Regions from separate parts of the Homo sapiens genome. Here all the other regions are linked to region 1. Evidence: promoter capture Hi-C in 16 types of primary human blood cells and fetal thymus (Javierre and others, 2016). All regions are on one chromosome and are shown on one strand. The core of a region is centred on a gene start or on the middle of the fragment in contact, and the rest is flanking DNA. Distances in the headings are between cores, read along the strand shown. Region 1 holds the start of MEGF8 (multiple EGF like domains 8). Region 2 overlaps GRIK5 (glutamate ionotropic receptor kainate type subunit 5). Region 3 overlaps GRIK5 (glutamate ionotropic receptor kainate type subunit 5). Region 4 overlaps DMRTC2 (DMRT like family C2).

The links. Contacts are between HindIII fragments. The CHiCAGO score rates a contact against its expected background, and 5 or more counts as called.
Region 2: a fragment that was not itself captured here is called in contact with the fragment with the promoter of MEGF8 in region 1 in 1 of 17 cell types (fetal thymus); the score reaches 5.3 in fetal thymus.
Region 3: a contact is called between a fragment that was not itself captured here and the fragment with the promoter of MEGF8 in region 1, in 4 of 17 cell types (total CD8 T cells, erythroblasts, naive B cells and 1 more). The highest score is 6.0, in total CD8 T cells.
Region 4: a contact is called between a fragment that was not itself captured here and the fragment with the promoter of MEGF8 in region 1, in 4 of 17 cell types (total CD8 T cells, fetal thymus, total B cells and 1 more). The highest score is 6.0, in total CD8 T cells.

Annotation. Positions count from the first base shown.
Region 1 is chr19:42,324,128-42,327,254 of GRCh38, forward strand. It overlaps MEGF8 (multiple EGF like domains 8), which reads left to right and starts at 1,508. Exons shown (of 42, transcript NM_001271938.2): 1 at 1,508-2,303. The coding sequence starts at 2,117. TMEM145 (transmembrane protein 145) reads left to right here. Exons shown (of 15, transcript NM_173633.3): 15 at 610-937. The coding sequence ends at 690. RefSeq lists silencers at 1,434-1,623, 1,664-1,803, 2,024-2,093, 2,104-2,173. The HindIII fragment of the contact is 9,695 bases long and covers 1-3,127 here.
Region 2 is chr19:42,005,143-42,008,396 of GRCh38, forward strand. GRIK5 (glutamate ionotropic receptor kainate type subunit 5) reads right to left here. Exons shown (of 20, transcript NM_002088.5): 16 at 1,503-1,668; 17 at 581-806. Among named protein-coding and RNA genes, the nearest start is that of ATP1A3, 13 kb to the left of the region's middle. The HindIII fragment of the contact is 1,642 bases long and covers 1,126-2,767 here.
Region 3 is chr19:42,037,773-42,040,924 of GRCh38, forward strand. All of the region lies in intron 12 of GRIK5 (glutamate ionotropic receptor kainate type subunit 5), which reads right to left. Among named protein-coding and RNA genes, the nearest start is that of GRIK5, 31 kb to the right of the region's middle. The HindIII fragment of the contact is 2,122 bases long and covers 290-2,411 here.
Region 4 is chr19:41,850,937-41,854,306 of GRCh38, forward strand. It overlaps DMRTC2 (DMRT like family C2), which reads left to right. Exons shown (of 9, transcript NM_001040283.3): 9 at 648-1,397. The coding sequence ends at 760. Among named protein-coding and RNA genes, the nearest start is that of DMRTC2, 7.6 kb to the left of the region's middle. The HindIII fragment of the contact is 1,104 bases long and covers 911-2,014 here.

The DNA.
Region 1 (3,127 bases), core at 258-2,757:
CAGGCGCCCCGCCACCCAGTCCTTCCCTGACTGACAACGTGCGTCCACACCTGGGGTGGAAGGGTTCTCCGGGGGAGGGGGACGGGCCTTCGGGGCCGCATCTGCCCCCCGAGGGTCCCGGACGGCCTCTGACCCTGACCCCCCTCCCAGGCCGGGAAGCAGGTGGAGGAGACAGCGGTGGCGGCGGCGGTGGCCCCGAGGGGCCGCGTGGTGACCATGGCCGAGCCGGGCGCAGCCTCCCCCCCACTTCCCGCTCGGTTCCCCAAGGCGGCCGACTCGGGCTGGGACGGCCCGACGCCGCCCTACCAGCCGCTCGTGCCCCAGACGGCAGCGCCGCACACCGGCTTCACCGAATACTTCAGCATGCACACGGCCGGGGGCACTGCACCCCCGGTCTGAGCACCCCTGCCCGCCCCTGCCCCATGGGCCATGACCGGGCCCCGGCCGGGCTCCGGACCCCTGCTTTATCCCGGCCCGAGAGCTCGCCCATCCCCGGCCTTCCCGACCCTTCCCACCCCGCGCGCCCAGGTTGGGTACGCTGCGTCCCGCCCCCCTCCCCTCTGTGCCAAACGGTCCCGCGGGAGCCGCTCTCCCCGTCCCCTCCCTCAGCCCCTGCCCCGAGCGGCGCCGGATTCTGGGCTCCCGCTGTTCCGTGACCTCCGGCCCCCTGGCCCCCTTCGAGACCTCTGACCCCGCTGGACTCCGGAACACCCGTGGTGACCGCCGGGACCCTGCCTGTGACTCTCCAGGACTCTGCGACCCCGGGATGGATATTGCGATGCTGGTCTCGACCCTGAAACCCTCCCTCGGATCTGTGACCTCGGACCCGTACTCCATCTGCCGCATCTCCATTCCGGGGGCCTTCCCTCGGGTCCCTGGCAGAAAGACATTTTACCCCTTCTTGCCAAAATAAAAAAGGATTCGTTTTTATCTATAACATGGCTTCTTTTGCATCTTGATGGTGTTCAGCGGCGGGGCTGAGCCAGAACTATGTCAGGCTCGGGACCTCAGTGTGTCCATCTGTGAAATGGGAATTTGGAACCGGAGGCAGGGGCCTGTATAACCTGATCTTTATGTTGCCCCAGAATGTGGGAACATTGAAGATGATCAAACATCTAGCAGGGTCTTGCACCGCTCCTTTATTTTTGCCTTCCTTTCCTCACTCAGAGGTAGAGGCGCCCTCCAGTGGCCCATGCTTTGCTGAACCACAGGCACCCAGAGTTTGGGTTACGATCTTAGCACTGCGCATATGTGTATTTCTCTCCCTCCAGGAGGACGCTGCTGCGCATGCGGTTGGGAACAAATGGGCGGGGATTTCCCCGGAAGTCTCCCTTTATGGAGGGTTGGGGTTGGGCGCTCCGCAGTCCTCCCAGGGCCGCTCTGACCGGCCGCTCTGTAACTTCTCGCCTCCTCTTCGCCGTCCCTCCCACAGCGGCTGCTCGGCTCCCGCCCCCTCGCCCTCCCACAGCGGGTCTTCCCGCGGCCGCTCTGGCCCAAGCGTCCCCTCGTCTCTCTGATCTGGCCCATCCGGCTTCGGAGGGAGGCGAGGGTGGGTGAGCAAAGGGATTGGGTCTGTGGGGTCCAGGCCCGAACCCCTGAAGACGGGCTCCGCCCCCGGCACCCGCTCGCGCCCCGCCCCCGGCTGGAGGAGTCTCTCCTGGACCATCCGAACCTAGCCTGTCCCGGCCCGCAGCCTCTATGGAGGCTCCTGCCGGGCCGTAGAGCCCTTCGCCCCCTGGGGACCCACCCGTCTATAAGGTCCGTTTGGCCTGCAGCAGCCTGAGTCCGTAATGCTGGGCACTGTTCATGGGATCGGCCCCCTATGGAGCCCTGTGTCTATAGGGGACTCCTACGGTCCCTAGGGTTCGGCCCCGTCCATAATGACTCCATATACAGGGCCTTCCATCGCTCTATAGGGCTCAGCCCTCGGCTTCCAGAGCCTGTCAGCAGTGGCCGTACCCTTCGCCGGGACTGCCGGGTCTCCGGGACCTCTTCGATCTACAAGGTCATGTTATGCCTATAGAGGTCGCATTTGCAGGGCCTCACCCCGGGTAGAGGGTCCTCTCCAGGTTTTTACGGCCTGTCCCCGCTCTAAGGGTCAGTGCAGGAGGCGGCGATGGCCCTGGGCAAGGTTCTGGCCATGGCACTGGTTTTGGCCTTGGCCGTGCTGGGGTCGCTGTCCCCTGGGGCCCGGGCGGGGGACTGCAAGGGGCAGCGGCAGGTGCTGCGGGAGGCGCCAGGCTTCGTGACGGATGGTGCGGGCAACTACAGCGTCAATGGCAACTGCGAGTGGCTCATCGAGGGTGAGTGGGGCCGCGTGGGTCACTCACTAATTCGCTGGTAGTTCATTCATGTGTGCATTCATCCACTCACCACATTCCCAGAGCTCGGTTCTGGTCCAGGCCTTTTGCTCTAAAATGCCTGACACCCAGGGTTGCAGCCAACCTGGGCCCTGCCCTGGAAGGCCTCCAAGTCTGGTGGGGGAGATGCACCTACACCCAGATTTACAATTACAAGACAGGAGCATCAGTGCCGGGCCTTCTGAGTAACTGTTAAGAACTCAGGGTCTGGGTCCAATCATTTGGCTTTGAATTTGGTTCTACTACTACTACTTTTTTTTTTTTTTTTTTTTGAGATGGGGGCCTCACTCTGTCACCCAGGCTGGAGTGCAATGGTACCAACACAATTTACTTACTGCAGCCTCGACCTCCTGGGCTCAAGTGATCCTCCCACCTCAGCCTCCCAAGTAACTGAGTGTGTAGAGACAGAGTCTCACCATGTCGCCCAGGCTAGTCCTGAACTCTTGGGCTCAAACGATCCTCGCACCTCAGCCTCCCAAAGTGTTGGGATTGTAGGTGTGAGCCACTGTGCCTGGCTTCTTATTATTAGCTTTGTGACTTTGAGCAGGTGGTTTTCTTTCTCTGAGGTTCTGTTTCCTTCCCCCACAAATGGGATAACAACAGTACTCACCTCATAGAGTTGTTGGAATGAAATGAAAACAGGTATTTAACATGCCTGATGTGTGGCATATAGTAACTGTTCAATAAATGGCATTAGGATTATTGTTGTTGTTATTTGTGAAGTACTTCAATAAAAGCATTTTTCTTCAGTCATTCATGTGCCAGAC
Region 2 (3,254 bases), core at 697-3,196, 320 kb before region 1:
TGGAAAAACATGTCCTGGGCCATGCGAGGTGGCTCATACCTGTAATCCCAACACTTTGGGAGGCCAAGGCGGGCGACAGAGCAAGACTCCGTCTCAAAAAAAAAAAAAAAAAAAACAAAACACCAAACTTGTCCTGAAATATAAATAGGCACATACAAGTCTCCCTACCAGATCATTCCATCCTTCCCATCCATCTTACAAGCATTTTTCAAGCACCTGCTCTGAGCCAGGCTATAGGATTTTTCCAAGAAATAGGAAACAAGACCAGGTCCTCACCCCCACAGGGCCCTTGGGGGAAGACAGCAAGCCCCACCACCCACATATACTGAATTGTATACACAGTCTCACTGAATTCTCCCAACAGCTCTGGGAGGGCTGGATTGCTGCTAGGCCTGGTTTTGCAGGTTGGGGGTACAGAGGCTCAGGACGGTGATGTCGCCTGCCCAAGACCATACAGCCAGGAGGCCACATGCAACACACCCAGCCTGCCTCGGGGGTGCCTGGCCCGGTCCTGGGCCTGCTCACAGGTGGTTTTGGATGCCCACGGCCCTGCTGTGTTCCACACCGTGCTGTGCCGTACCCAGCGGCATGCCAATGCCGTAGCCCTTGGTGTCGAGGAGTCCCCCGATCTGGGTGAGGTTGCAGTTGAGGCGCCGGTGGTATTCGTTCATGGTGGACTCGAGCAGGAAGGCGTAGCGGGAGTTGAGGACGCGGGCAATGCCCTCTTCTGTGCTCTTGACGAACACGCTGGGCTGCTTCGACTGCATGTAGTTCCACATGCGCTGGTACGTTTGGTACCGTGAATTCTGGGCAGGAGGATCACAAGGGGAAGATGGGAGGGTCTTTCCAGCCGCTTCCTTTCCCCGAGCCCTTCCCATCCTCCAGGAAGTCTCCCTCAACCCAGGAGAATGCAAGGTGATCAAAGGAAGACAGAGCCAAAGGTAGAGGAGAGAGAGGAGATGGACAAACTGTCCAGGCCAGGTCCAAGTCATCCCCACAGCCACTGTGCCCACCACCCACCTGGGGGGCCCGGTGAGTGCACCTCCACCTCCTTCCCCTTAACCCTCCAGCCGGTGGCCGCTGCCCAACTCAGGCCTCCTTTAGACCACTAGGACCTCCCTGCCAAGCTTGCTTTCCTCTTCTTTCCTTCCCACCACCCCAAAATACAAAAGATCAAGCACTTTTCACCTTGAAGGGCCTTCCCTTCTCTCTGTCAGCCCATATTCCTGGTCCCGACCCTTCCAGCAGCCTCCTTGATCCCATTTGGCCCATATGACATTGACATTTGATACCACATATGCCTCCCTGCCCTCATTCCCCAGTTCCCTAGCCAGCCAGCTGCGAGCCCCATGACAGCACATGTGTGTTTTCTGCTCCCCAGCCTCCAGGCTGTCACTGACAATCAGTCCCTCTGACCCAGGAGACCCTGCCCAGACCCATCCTGAGCTGCTTTGCATGGCAGGGATCCCAACACCACGCCTGAGAGGTTCTGGTGGCCCCACCTGGAAGAAGGTCATGGTGGAGCCGGCGTGGATGGTGCCATACTCGATGTTGGTCTGATCTGCCAGGTCATCGGCCGACTCCACAGGCACCTCCATGCGCTGCACGGTGAGGAAGGCGGCCAGGTTGGCCGTGTAGGAGGAGATGATGATCAAGGTGAAGGCCCACCTGAAGGGTGGGAGGGGTGAGTCACGGGCTGGAGTCACCCCTGCTGACCTGCCCCCGTGGCCATGCCCCCCATTGGTGGTGCCCCTCCCAAGTGACCCCAGCATCTGGAAGACTCAGTGACTGCTGGGTGCAGAAGCGGGGAGTGTGGATTCTGAAGCCAGACTTCCTGGTTGTAAATATTGCATCCGGAGACTTCTACTTCCAGATATAAAAGAGTAAGATGGTCTGGAAATACCCTCCCACCATAAACAGCTAAAGAGCTGGATAGAATACAGGAAACTTTTTTCTTTTTTTTTTTTTTTTGAGACAGATCTTGCTTTGTCAGCCAGGATGGAGTGCAGTGGCACGATCTCAGCTCACTGCAACCTCTACCTTTGGGGTTCAAGTGATTCTCCTGCCTCAGCCTCCCAAGTAGCTGAGATTACAGGTGCCCACCATCACGCCCGGCTAATTTTTGTATTTTTAGCAGAGACGGGGTTTCACCATGTTGGCCAGGCTGGTCTCGAACTCCTGACCTCAGGTGATCCACCTGCCTCAGCCTCCCAAAGTGCTGGGATTACAGGAGTGAGCGACCACGCCCGGCCAGGAAACTATTTAAAACATAGGACAAGAGACATCATAGAACTGTGATCCCTGAGAAGAGAAACAAAATGAGTCTTATTGTCCAGGCTGCTTGGCTGGATTTAATTTATAGGAAGGGAAGCCCAAACAGCCCAGCAATCCTGCTGAGTTGCAGAGACGGAGACTGGTGATCAGGCAGGCCAACATGGCTGGAATTTGGGGGATAGAGTGCCTGAGAGGAGGGAGCTGCAAAGAGAGGGAGGATTCAGAAACCGGTGGTCCCCTTGAGTCTTTGGCTGAATATCAATCTGTGCATGCATGGGGTGAAACTCTGTGGGGCTGGACAAGAGCAACTTTCAAGGAGAAAACAATTCTTAGAGTTGACACAGGGCTGAGAGTCTTTTGAGCTCCCTGCAGCCAGAGTAGAAAGATTTCATTGAATACATGAGACATTCAGTAGAGACCCAAAAGTGTAACATACTAGAAATAGGATTAAGTTAGCCCTAGAATAAAGGCAATGCTAAAGCTGCACTAAAAAAGCTTAAAAACAGGCCTAGAAGTATCAAAGTAATTCACAAGTAACCTAACTAGATTCCAGAAAAAGTTTATAAATACTCTGTAAAAAAATATATTCAGCAATGTAAACAATGTCTGTTATGTAATTTTTTTTTTTTTCTTGAGACAGAGTCTCACTCTGTCACCCAGGCTGGAGTGCAGTGGTGTGATCTTGGCCACTCCCGGGTTCAAGTGATTCTCCCGCCTCAGCTTCCTGAGTAGTTGGGATTACAGGCACCTGCCAGCACGCCTGACTAATGTTTGTATTTTTAGTAGAGATGAGGTTTCACCACGTTGGCAGGTTGGCCTTGAACTCCTGACCTCAGGTGACCTGCCCACCTCGCCCACCCAAGGTGCTGGGATTACAGGCATGAGCCACTGTGCCCGGCCTATTACATAATTTTTTAAAAAAATACCAGGTTGGGCACGGTGGCTCACACCTGTAATCCCAGCATTTTAGGAGGCTGAGG
Region 3 (3,152 bases), core at 101-2,600, 290 kb before region 1:
AAGAGCAGCCCACGTCCAGTGACATATCAGTGGGTGCTTAAAGGCCTGGCACCCTTACCACAGGGGGAGGTCCTTGACGGCCAGCTCAGCTCCAGAGCTGCCTGTGGGACAGCTAAGGCCCAGTTGTGACTGCAGCGCAGCTCAACTCCTCTGCCCAAGCCTGCTTCCTTCCCTCCTGCACAGGGCAGGTTTCCAGGGGCACGCCATCACACCTCCTGCCTCTACATCTCCATCTCAGAGTCAGCTTCCTGGGACCCTGACCTAAGATCTTCTTTGCCCTTGAAGGCTAAGCTTTATCCTGAGGGCCTCAGGGGCTTCAGTTAAAGCATACAAGTGACAGATCAGACTCACACTGTAGAAAGGTTCTATTGGAGGACAAGCTGGGGAGTGGAGAGACTAGAAGCCAGGAGGCCAGTAAGGAGGCTGATGAGAGGGGTGGGACCTGAATTCACACCATGGCAGTGATGGCAGGGAGAAGGCCAATGTCAGCCATGGCCACTGGGTGGAAAAAATGGGTCATAATTCAAGACAGGCCAAGGAGACCTGTGCCTGGCCCAGGGGTGACTGGCAGGATGGTGGTGCCCCAGGCTGTCTTCCATCTGGAAGTCACTCACCAGCTCTGGGCCACCCTGATGGGGTGCCCACCTTGGCTCTCCTGGTCACTAGCCATGGGCCTGGACATGAAACCTTGATGCCTCACTGTACATTTGAGAAAACGGGGCTAATACCAGTCCCTCTCTCACTGGGTGGCCATGAGGAGTCAAGGATGGAGACAAGTCAGAAAGCTCAGACAAGGGCCTGGCACAGCGTGCCACTCCATCAGTGTACTCCGAGCTTCCCAAGTTCCCAGCTGGAGGGCTGGAAAGGGCACGGGCCTTAAGTCAGACACACCTGGCTGCAGCCCTGTGCACTGGGGACTCCAGATCTCACACTGGGCAGTGATCCTCAGGCCATGAAGGACTGCTATGAAAATTATGTTAAGTAACACTTGAAAAGTTCCTCGCACATGGTGTGAAATCAACAAATGACAGCTGCTGCTGTTGTGATGACGGTGGTGACTATTCCTGTGCAGCTCGGCACACTCGGCTATCCCACAGCAGGGCAAGGCCAAACTCCGCCTATCCTTCACGCTCCAGCTCCTCCTCCAGTGTTCTCCCTGTAAATGTCATTGCCATCACCCAGATGCCCAAGCCAGACACAGGAGGAATGCTCTCCCTCCTGTCCTCTCCTGCATCCCCCACCCTAGGCAGTCACCAAGCCCTGGTGCTCTTTAGCCCTTCCCCTAGTCTCTAGCTCTGACGTTCTCCCGCCTGAGGCCCACCAGCTCATTCCTTATCTCCTCACTGGTCTTCCTGTTACCACTGCTTCCCCCAACCCCAGGGCCAATTCACTTGAGCCAGATCAAAACCCTTCAAGGGTGGCCGGGCATGGTGGCTCATGCCTGTAATCCCAGCACTCTGGGAGGCTGAGGCAGGTGGATCACCTGAGTTCAGGAGTTTGAGACCAGCCTGGCCAACATGGCGAAACCCATCTCTACTAAAAATACAAAAATTAGCCAGGTGTGGTGGCATGCGCCTGTAGTCCCAGCTACTCAGGAGGCTGAGGCAGGAGAATCATTTGAACCCACGAGGCAGAGGTTGCAGTGAGCCAAGATCACCCCATGGCACTCCAGCCTGCCTGGGCAGCAGAGCCAGAGTCCGTCTCAAAACAAAAACAAAAACAAAACTCTTCAAGGGCATCCCATGGGCTTTCTGCTGAGGCCCAAACCCTTTAGCCCACTCAGTAAGAGCACATCGGGCTTGTTCACCATGGTATCCCCAGGGTATAGCACAGGGCTTGGTATACAGTAGGCACTCAACAAACATTGGCTGAATGGAAAATGGATGAACACACAAATCTATGTATGTGCTGGCCATGCTGGTATGAATAATAACAATAATAAAAATAGTATAATCCCAGCACTTTGGAAGGCTGAGGTGGGAGGATTGCTTAAGCCCAGGAGTTCAAGACCAGCCTAGGCAACAGGGCCAGACCCCATCTCTACAAAAAACACAAAAATTACCTAGGCATTATGGCATATGCCTATAGTCCCAGCAACTCGGGAGGCTGAGGTGGGAGGATCGCTTGAGCCCAGGAGGTGGAGGCTGCAGTGAGCTGTGATTGCACTACTGCGCTCCAGCCTGGGCAACAGAGAGAGACCCAGTCTCAAAGGAAAAAAAAAAAAGGACACACGCATACAGCACCCACTATGCACCAGGCCCTGTTCTAAGTTCTTCACTGCATGTTGTTCTTCAAAACAACCCTATGTGCTAAAGGGCTGTTATTCCCCAATTTTACAGTTGAACAAACTACAACCTAAAGAAATGTTAAGCACTTGCCCAAAGCCACACAACCAGTGCACAGCAGAGCTAAGCTTTAAACAGCCAACCACAGACACTCTCAGCTGCCACACTTTGCTGGCCCCAGGCCCCAAATCCTCTCACCCTACCCTACTGAGTAGGCCCTGAGACACAAAGGTCAGACAGCTGTAAATAAGAACTGTTCCAGACTTCTCTGTTGGTGAAAAAAGGGCATCCAGTTTAGAGTGACTTCAGGTGCAGGGCTACTCCCTTGGAGCCTGCTTATTTCTGGGATACCAGATGAAAGAATATTTCTGAGCCTACGTGACTAAAGACCAGGCTGTGGAAACAGGTCACGAGGAAGCCTGTGCCCTCAGGTGGGCATAGAGCTGTCAGCTCTGGGGCTTCTCATCTCCTGTCTCACCCGGGGCCTCTTTGGGCTTCAGGCTTTAAAATTCACCCTGGGCTGGGTGTGGTGTCTCATACTTGTAATCCTAGCACTTTGGGAGGTGAGGTGGGCGGATCACTTGAGGCCAGGAGTTCAAGACCAGCCTGGCCAACATGATGAAACCTGTTGCTCCAAAAAATACAAAAATCAGCCAGGCACGGTGGCGCACCTGTAATCCCAGCTACTCGGAAGGCCGAGGCAGGAGAATCGCTTGAACCCGGGAGGTGGAGGTTGCAGGGAGGCAGAGGTTGCTGTGAGCAGAGATCGTGCCATTGCACTCCAGCCTGGGCAACAGAGGAGACTCTGTCTCCAAAATAAATAAATAAATAAATAAAATAATAATAATAATAAAATTCACCCTGACC
Region 4 (3,370 bases), core at 213-2,712, 470 kb before region 1:
AAAGGCAGGGACTTGCCCAAGGGCATATAGTGAGACAGTGGCAGGGAACCCAATGCTCTGTCTCTGGACCCAGGCTGCCTGCTGAAGTCTGAAGTGGGGTCTGGCCTGGGAGGAGGTCTGATAAGTGCCTTCAAGGAGCTTACGTTCTAGTTAGGGAAATTGGATGCCTTCACAAGGCTCAGTGACAAACCTGAAGAAGATTGGAGGAACCTTGAAGAGTGAGAAACACCTAGGGGGACAGACAGGGAAAGCTGCGAATTCTCTTGTCCAAATAGTGGATTGGGCAGACTGGCCTGGAGGAAATGCTAGAACAGAGGGAAAGGAGGCTGGAGAGGCTTCTGATGGTGGAGATCTGGCATGCCAGGCTTAGGTGTCTAGAACAGCAACTGTATGTGAAGGGGAGCCAGGGAACGTTTCTGAACTAAGCAAGGACAAATTCAGAGACCCTGAGCTTTAGAAAGACAAGTGGGTGGCTTTGATGGACGGTTTGGAGGAGGCAAGACTGGAGGTGGGAAAATTAGCAAGGAGGTCTGTGAAATAATCCAGGAGAACAATGATGAGGCCTGGATTGGATTCGGTAAAAAGAGGGGGTTGCTAGAAGGAAAAACAGGTGTGACCTGATCCTGCCCCTTCCTTCTTGCCTGTAGCTCCTGCTGGAGGAAGAGGATTCCAGCCTGTTGGCCCCTGTCTTCGACCCAGCCCAGCCCCCTCTGTTGCTCTGCATATTGGCCGTCTGGGGTCCATCTCCCTCCTGAGCTAGAAACCCAGAGATGGAGGCTGTCTTGCTATGGCAGGGAGGTGACAGCCTGCTGGCACTGTATATTTAGTGTCTTACTTAAGGATTTATGCATGGAATTTAATGTAGTACAAGCTTCGGGCTTTTTTGTTTGTTTGTTTGTTTGTTTGTTTAAGCTTTCAGGTGCTTCATTAGCTTTCAGTTCCTTTGGTAGTGTGGGCATTTCCTTGGCTGACAGTGGATATTCTTGTACCCTTCTTGGGTCCTGGGATCTCTTGAAATCCCCAATAAAGAGAGAGTTGTGCTATTTAAGCTGACCAGTATCTATAAACGTGTTTGCATGAGTTTACATCCCAGGATTCCATGATTCTGTAAATGCCTATGCATTCATGTCTGTCTCCATGCATGTGAAAACAGGAGAGTGTTTTCATTTTGTGTCTAGGTTTGTGTGAGTAAGCAAGAAATAAACCTTTGTTGTTGTAAGCCACTGAGATTTGGAGAGTGTTACCACAGCCTAACCTAGTCTATCCTGACTGACAGAAAGGACTTGTTCATTTCGCTTCTCAAAGTGAAAAATCTGTTATCCAATAGCTACCATAGATGAAAACAAACTTGGATTTTTTTCTTTGTCCAAATAAAAAAAAATGATGTAAAGAAATAATGGGGGATTCACTGATTAATTGCCCGCTCTGTGCCAGGCATAGACAGTTTCCAGCTGTCTAGAGGGGCTACAAATCGAAATGCCTACAGGGCTGAGCAGATCAAATAAATGAGTAAAGAAGGCCAGATGGACCCTGGCAAACTGAGAATGGATGCCTTGCCTAAGGAGCAGCCTCCTTTTGGCCCTAGCAGATTACTGCCAGGCGGGAATGTGGACTCAGTGTTGCTCCATCTTCTGATTTTTTAAGAGAAACTGGAAAACTAGATTTCCATGTAAAACATCTTAATTTTCAAATGTTGGCTCAGTTTTCTTCTTTAAATTCTATACGTGCCAAATAAAACATATTTTCAGGCTAGCTTTGGCCAGTGGAATACCAATTTGATACATTTTCCAGATGGGGAAATTGAGGCTAACCAGAATAGAAAGAATCGAGTTAGTCTTTATCACAAGTTTTTCCTCAACTAGGGAGGTTCACGTGTCTGAGTTTCGAAGGATCCATAAAAGGTTAAGAAACATTTATTACCATTTATTGAGTGCCCACTCCATTTGATTCACATATCTTCACAGCAACCCTGGAAGTTATGCAGGATGGTTCCCATTTTACAAGTGAAGAAACAAGCTTAAAGAGGTAAAGTAACTTGCCCAAGTGTTTTAGGGGAAATTTCTAGGCAGAGATCAGAGGAGGGTTCCTTCTCTTTGCCAGGCTCCAAATTAGTTAATAATGTTTATAAAGCATTGGGCCGGGTGTGATAGCTCACACCTGTAATCCCAGCACTTTGGGAGGCCAAGGCAGGAGGATCGCTTGAGCCCAGGAGTTTGAGACCAGCCTGAGTAACACGGGGAGACCCTGTCTCTATAAAAACAAATAAATAAAAGCATAGAATGAAAGATGCACCACTCCTTTCCCCAATCAGGACTCCAGAAGATACATACAAGTCAAGAGTTTTTCAAAAAAGTCTTTTATTTTTCTCCTCAAGATATCATTAAGAATAAGATCTTACCTGCATTTGTTTCTCAGTCCTCTGGTGTCAAGTCCTTCTCCTTGAACCATTCCGTACATAGGAAAACCTGTTGAGCTATTCCAAAGACATGAAGCCTGGAGACCCCCTTCCCATTCCCACCCTTAGAAGGGGCTCAAGGGATGTGCTTGATCACTGATTCTTTTTCCTGATGTTACCTACACCCCTTGTTTTACTCAAGATGATTGATGGTGATGACATCCAATTACAACTTGTTATTTCTTATTTGGGATTTTGAGAGGGTGGGTTTCTTCTCCTCCCTAGCAGAGTACAGAGTAACAAACCTGCAGCACTTCTCAGGAGATACTGAGATATCAGGAGACCAAAGTCGGCTTCACACCCTTCTTCCCTCCCCTTAGCTATAACTTAGATATATGATTGCTCCTTAATAGACCTGCCTAAGACTTGGTGTGCCATGCTTTCCTAGTGACAGATGACCAGGGCCACAAAGTCACAGAGAAAGGAAGCACTGCAACATGCAACATGGCTGAGATTCTGCTACTCAGCACTGACCAAGGGTCCTCTGTACACCAAGGTCACAGAGCTGAGAAGGGTAAAAGAGAAAGTATAATTTGGGGTTAAAGGATGGCATGAAAAGGGGAGGAAAAGAGGAAGTGATGGAGATTGGGGGAAGGAGTAGACTAGAGGCCACCTCTCCTTCACCTCTCCTCCAGTACCCGGCCTTCAGTACCCAGCCTGGGCAAGGCTTTTCACACCAGTTGGCCAGGCCAACTTTGTCTTTCAAATCGTTAGGGCCCCCCATTAGTGCCTGAGGGAAAGGGCCAGAGCTTCTGCAGATGTCAGTCTTAGGGAAAAGAGCAGATTTAAGAGTTGCTCATGCTCCTAAGTTGTTGCCTGTTCAGGTGCAGCACTCTTCACCTGTGGTTGTAGGGAGCCAGTAGGCTCCTGGCCTCTTCTTGGCTCTGAGAGATTACAGATAATAGACTGTGAGCA